Linked DNA regions of Homo sapiens: region 1 is linked to region 2. The links are contacts of gene promoters, found by promoter capture Hi-C in blood cells and fetal thymus (Javierre and others, 2016). All regions are on one chromosome and are shown on one strand. The core of a region is centred on a gene start or on the middle of the fragment in contact, and the rest is flanking DNA. Distances in the headings are between cores, read along the strand shown.

Evidence for each region. The method cuts DNA at HindIII sites, captures the fragments that hold promoters and counts their contacts. A CHiCAGO score of 5 or more calls a contact.
Region 1: a contact is called between a fragment that was not itself captured here and the fragment with the promoter of CHCHD3 in region 2, in 1 of 17 cell types (non-activated CD4 T cells). The highest score is 5.9, in non-activated CD4 T cells.

The regions. Positions count from the first base shown.
Region 1 is chr7:132,652,750-132,656,230 of GRCh38, reverse strand. All of the region lies in intron 1 of FLJ40288 (Putative uncharacterized protein FLJ40288), which reads right to left. Among named protein-coding and RNA genes, the nearest start is that of FLJ40288, 5.7 kb to the right of the region's middle. The HindIII fragment of the contact is 548 bases long and covers 1,852-2,399 here.
Region 2 is chr7:133,080,603-133,083,876 of GRCh38, reverse strand. CHCHD3 (coiled-coil-helix-coiled-coil-helix domain containing 3) reads left to right here and starts at 1,787. Exons shown (of 8, transcript NM_017812.4): 1 at 1,787-2,020. The coding sequence starts at 1,940. It also overlaps the pseudogene RNU6-92P. RefSeq lists enhancers at 1,505-1,614, 1,825-2,004, 1,420-2,054. The HindIII fragment of the contact is 4,501 bases long and covers 587-3,274 here.

The sequences.
Region 1 (3,481 bases), core at 876-3,375, 430 kb after region 2:
CCAGATCAACTTCTGTTTCAACCATTCTGAATGCTAATGCTCTGCTGTGGGTCTGAAATTAGAGCTTTTAAGGACCCATTATACCAATACTTGTCGTCTCTTGATGCCTCAGTTTCCCTTCCAAATGACCATTTCGTTATTGACACGCCTTCAGTTTTCTTTTGCCTTATCAACCATTCAGCAAAAACAATTTAAATTCATGCCTTAGTAAAATTGCAAGTTACTTTGGGTAATGGACCTCCTGGGTCAAAATAGCAAATGATAAGCCTGTAAATGCCAGTATTCTGTCTACTGTATAAAGCTGGGCTCCAGAGGGAAGTGGTTTGGTGGTGTTCCCACTCAACTCGGGTTCACTTACAACTCCGAGCTCCTCTGTTTTGAGATGAAGGGAATGAGGTTTTTTACTGAGAGGGGAATCTATTGGAGAATTCTCCTTCCTTAAGGGAAGGTTCTGGGGTGCACCATCAAGCCTGATGAACCAGCTGCTATAGTTTTCTATCCTCTCAGAACTGGGTAGTGCAGTTTGCAGCCTGAGCCTCGGCCGGCCCTGGGTGAGTTGCTGGTGTTGGGATCTTAGCAGGAGAGGAAGCAGACAAGAGGAGCCCAGCACGGAAGCTTGTGAGCCGGAAGAGGCAATAGCATCTGCCAAGTTGATAAAGAGTAATGTGCGGATCTTGAAATCGCTGAAAGTGCAGAGGGAGGGGCCCTCCGAGAGGGAGAGAGAGCACAATGTCCCACCAGGGAAGCCGCAGCACTTCCTCTCTGGTTTGATTCCCGTTATGCATGTCAGACAGACTTACTCAGAGAAAGAAGGGGGTGGAGGGGAGTAGAAAATCAATTGTTTTTCATAATTATTGATCTCTTTCAATGAATCGCTGTGGTAATGGAGTGGGAGGGGATGGAGGAGAAAGGGTCAGCCCCAAAGGGTGAGTAGCCATCCATTTCGGCACTAGGAGTGTCAGGAGCCCACCGAGGGTGCTGGGCAAGAAACTGCCACTGTGTCCCCAAGACGCTGTGGGAGGAGCAAGGCTCAAGTCTACCCAGGGTTGGGGGAAGGGCCTGAACATGCTTGTTTAAATATTTGGGGTTGGAGATTCATCCAGATGAGTTGGAGTTCTCCACCTCTGTGTTAGAAAATAATACACATCTAATTGCAGAAAAGATGGCTATAGAAAAGAGTACTGTAGTAGAAAGGTATGTAATTTCACGAGAGCATTGCAAACATTCCAATGTTTTCTCCACATATGGTTTATGTACTTATGATAGAACTTACATGTACAATATCATATCTTGCTTTGTTTGCTTATCAATAAGTTGCATTTGCTACACTATTAAAAGCTCTTTAGAACATCCTTTAAATAGGACTTTTTTTGGTATAAAATAACAAATGACCATTACAGAGAATTTGGAAATATGCAAAAAATATAAAACATAAGTAAAAGTATTCAAAATTTTACCACCTAGAAATGACTCCTGTTGATAATTTAGTATATTTCATTCTAAGCTGTTTTCTATACATGTATACATAATGTATTTACCTCCATGAAATTTTGATCATGATGTATATATATTTTTCATATTCTATTTTTTCACTTATGTGACCAAATAATTTTTAAAAACATGATTTTTAATGTTCGTGTAATGTTCCATCATATGTGCTCAGCAGTTTTTATTGTATTGATCCTATTACTTCCAGTGTTTGGGTTATAATAAACAACACAGTGATGGCTTCTTTACATCTATCTTTAACCTCTTCTCTCGGTACCTAGAAAATACTATTTTCGTGGAGATGGAGCTGGATTTCCCCTCAGCTTCAGGTAGAAACTCCACTTCCCCTGGCCTGCTGAAGCTTGGCCCATGCAAATTTCTAAACTTGGCTCAGAACCTGCTGAAAGCCTCTAGTGGTGGTTGTCCCTCACTGACAACCCTCAATTTTTTTTTTCAGTTTAGCGTTTTTCTAGAGCTTTCTGTCTAATACAGTAATACATATGTGGCTCTTCAGATTCAAACTAACTCAAATCAAACAAAATTAGAAACTCAGTTTCTTGGTCACACTAACTACATTTCAGGTGCTCCAGAGACACACACATGGCTCATGGCTACCATATTGGACATAAAGTCACAGAGCATTTCCATTGTGGCAGAAAATTCTATGGGAAGGTTACTCTGGGCACTTCTGATTGACTTGTCTGGGGGGGTCTCTCCAAGTTTTTGGGGCTGTCAGTCTCTACTTGCAATCCCCTTCCACCATCTTCTCAGGCAGACCCATGTTTCAGACTTCTCTTTTTCTGCTTGTACCTAATTTTTGCACCTAAGATGGAGCTTAGAGCAGGTTCTTTTTGTCTCTGGGTGAGTAAGAATTTACCCAGAGATCTGAATGATAAAAGCATAAGTAAGCTTTTCTAGTGCTACCTCCTCAGACTCAATGAGGAAGAAAATGGATATTCCTAGCCAAAAAAGGAAGTTAGCAGAGGTGGCATCTCACCTCTCCAGGCTGGGGATAGCTCAGCTGACAGAAGGGGTGAGCTGTTGTTCCTATAGTCACTGCTCTTAGAGAGCTGGAGCCTTTCTCCTTAGCACAAGGGAGGGCTAGAGCTGCTGTCAGTGTCTTCCAGGCAGGTTTCACAGCAGCAGCTTGGGCAGAGCAAGGCCATCAGTCACCACTTCCCCTTTATATAGGACTGGCCAGGTGTCATCAGACTCTGATAGCACGTAGCAAGCAAGCAGGGACTGAGGGCCCTGGCACGTCGAGGGAGACCAGGTGTTCAGGAGTGAGCAAGTCACTTAAACACACCAGGATGTTGAGAAGCATAGGGCGGGACACAAGTGACACACCAGCACTTGTGAAAAACATAGCTCCAAGCCATTTACATTCACATTTCAACCATGGTGCGAGGATCCAAATTCAGACTGTTGTGGTCTAAGCAGATGGCATCAGCCAGGTGTATAGAAAGGCCTACAGGCTTTAATTACTTGGGGGGCGTATTAGTCTGTTCTCATGCTGCTAATAAAGACATAGCTAAGAATGGGTAATTTATAAAGGGAAGAGGTTTAATAAACTCACCATTCCACCTCACCATTGTGAGGGGAGGCCTCACAATCATGGTGGAAAATGAAGGAGGAACAAAGTCATATCTTACATGGTGGCAAGCAAGAGAGAGCATGTGCAGGGGAACTCCACTGTATAAAACCATCAGATCTTGTGAAACTTATTCACTATCCCAAAAACATCATGGGAAAGATCCGCCCCCAAGATTGAGTTACCTCCCACTGGGTCCCTCCCATGACATGTGGGAATTGTGGGAGCTACAATTCAGAATGAGATTTGGGTTGGGACACAGCCAAACCATATTGGGGGACAGTCTAGTGGCCAAAGAAAGTCTAATTACAAAGTGAGATTTGTTTGAGAGGCAGATTCTAGACCCCAGAAGAGATTGGCTCCTCCCAAGACAGGTTCTTATCCCTTGTCCACTGCTTCTTT
Region 2 (3,274 bases), core at 538-3,037:
CTATGAAGAAATGTATTTTCTCATAGACAGGTTTGAAAACCATAGTACTTAAAATTTTACTTTACAAAAAGAAAAAAATACAGATACTAGTTCATGAGACAAGAGACATGGACCAAACACACGTTTACGTTTTTTATTTTTTTATTTTATGGCTACTACTAAAATGCCACCATTCATGTACTGCATAACAGTGTTTCAGTCAAAGAAGAACCTCATTTCTGGCAGTGGAATCATAAGATTATAATGGAGCTGGAAAATTCCTGTCTCCTAGTATTTACTATACTATGCTTTTTATCTTTAGGTTAAAGTGCATTCTTTCTACCTATATAAAAAAGTTAACTGTAAAACAGCCTCAGGCAGGTCCTTCAGGAGGTGTTACAGAAGGTGCTGTTATCATAGGAGATAGCTCCATACGTGTTATTGCCTCTGAAGACCTTTCAGTGGGACAAGATGTGAAGGTGGAAGACAGTGATATTGATGATCCTGACCCCGTGTAGGTCTAGGCTAATGTGTGTGTGTTTGTCTTAATTTTTAACAAAAATGTTTAAAAAGTAAAAAGTAAATAATTTCAAAAATAGAAAAAGCTTATAGACTAAGTATATAAAGAAAGAAATATTTTTGTACAGCTATATAGTGTGTTTGTGTTTTAAGCTAAGTGTTATTAAAGAGTCAAAAAGTCACAAAAAAAGAAGTTTATAAGTTTAAAAAGTTACAGTAAGCTAAGGTCAATTTATTCTTGAAGAATGAAAATATATGAAAATAAATTTAGTGTTGCCTAAGTGCACAGTGTTGATAAAAGGTACAGTACTGCATAGTTGCGTCCCAGGCCTTCACATTCAACTCCCCACTCACTCACTGACTCACTCAGGGCAACTTCCAGTCCTGTAAGCTCCATTCATGGTAAGTGCCCTATAGAAGCATACCATTTTTTATCTTTGATTTTTTTTTTAATGGAATGCTTCAGAAATTCATGTGTCAACCTTGCTCAGGGGCTGTGCTAATCTCTGTATTGTTCAAATTGTCCTAGATGTGTTGCCAAAGCAATCACTTTTACACTGTTTTTGCTGTAGCTTTTCTATGTTTACATATATTTGTACACACAAATACCACTGTGTTACAATTGCCTACAGTATTTAGTACAGTGACATGCTGTACATCTTTGCAGCCTGGGAGCAATAGGTTACACCAAGTAGCCCAGGTGTGTAGTAGGCTACACCATCTGGGTTTGTGTAAGTACACTCTATGATGTTTGCACAACCACAGATATCACAGGGTCACCTAACGAGGCATTTCTCAGAAGTAGTCTTCATTAAGCTACCCTACGACTGTAATGAAACGCTAAGTTTTGAGCCAGGAATTTGTGTATAGAACACTAGGAATGGCTTCATTAGTATCATGCATCTTTTTCATTAAACTGTGAGTCCCTTTGAGAGAAAGATTGTGTCTCTGAACTTAGTGGCCTAAATTTCTAGAATTATGTCTTCAAAAAGTTGCCCAGTTAGGCGTCTCTGGGGAGTCAAAACCACAACTCCCAGAATGCCGTGCTCCCTTAGCGCGCTCAGGCGCGGGGAGAGAATGTCCCATCACCCACCGCGCCAGATCGAGACCACAGTTCCCACTACACCCAGGGACTCCGCGGAAAGCTATCAAACACCACCTGTTGCCATAGCATCCGGGTCGGGTGAACCAATCCGGGCGCCCTCGCCGAACAGAGGCGGGCAGTTCGCATCGCCGACCAACCTGAGGCGTTTTTGTTGTGGCGCGTGACCGGAGGAGGCGGGAGCTCAGGACCGGCGCCTTCTCCTTGCTTCTGGGGGTCGTGGCCTTGCTCCCGCTGTGCGGGAAAAGAATCCAGGCCCTTCCACGCGCGTGTGGGTGCGGGGGCCCCGAAGTGCTCGTGGTTCCCCGCTAGGTCTCCGCTGGGGCAGGAACCGGAATCATGGGTGGGACCACCAGCACCCGCCGGGTCACCTTCGAGGCGGACGAGAATGAGAACATCACCGTGGTGAAGGGCATCCGGGTGAGTGCCCGTGGACGGGCGGAGGGCCAGTGGTTGGACTCGGACCCCAAGGCCCCATCTTCTCCGGACCCGCTCAGCCTGGGTTTCTCCCGTCCTGGACCCTAGCGTATTAAGGCCAGAAGCCCAGGTGTCTGGGAAGAAGCCTAGAGTTTCAAGACGTGGGACATTCATTCAGAGATAGTTCCTGGTTGTGCCAAGTGCTAGGCACTGCTGGGGCGGGCGGGGAATGCCAGGTTGAATTATACCCTGCAAGGGCTCACAGTCTACTCGTAACTGTACTGCTCCCTTGTTGCAGGACCGTATTTGAAACCCATACCTCGGTGTACTTGTCTGTGAAATGGTTTTCCTGGGTTCAGGACCCAAACCCTGCTTTTCCACTGTGCACACCCTGTCTCCCAGGGTGAATTGGCATTTTAAGGATTGCCTTTGCTTTGTGTCATTTAGTGCTCTCCCTCTGATAACACCCCCTCCTCCCACCCACTCCCCACACCCTGTCATCCTCCCTCCCAGCCCCACAGTCTTTTCTGACCTGCCTGGGGCGGCTTCTGGCTTCTCCCTGCTTCACTTTCACTTGATATCTCCTCTTTCCCAGGCGCCTCCTCTGTGACCTGCTGCGCCGAAGTTTTGGATTAGGCCCAGTTGCTTCAGGACTAGTGTCTGCCAGTCTGATAGGGGCTGAGATGGGTTTGCAGTTTTTCATACCAGTAGAAGTAATGTAGTCATTTCTGACCAACGTTGTAGAGCACTTTTTTTTTAATGCCCTTTGCATGCACCTGATACATAAACTGAAAACCTGGTTTTTCTCTAGGGTGTCAGTATACCAGCACTAACTTCATTAACACACTCTCCGCTGCGCCTGAATTTGGAGCCTCACATTTTTGGACGTATGATGCCTGAACCTAGTAAATAAAGCAATTTTGACTTCAGAAAGTTTTATAATAATTTATATATTTTTTTCTGTTATCAACCAGCGTAAATAAATTACATTTGTAAATTATTTTTAACAGTTGTTACCAGGAAATAAAACTTCTTAAATATTTAAAATGTTTAAAAACTTTTTCTTCTGAAACTGTTACCTTGAGAATAATTTATTAAACTTTTCTTCATAGAAACTCAGACTGTCGAACTCAGTTTTTGGTCTGTGACCAGTATTTCTTTATATCATGCTAATTAATGGTAGTACTACATTTTGTAATAAAATATCTGAGGCTGTATTCTTTGAGTTATTGTGTTTCAGTTAGTACTCTTTGGAGT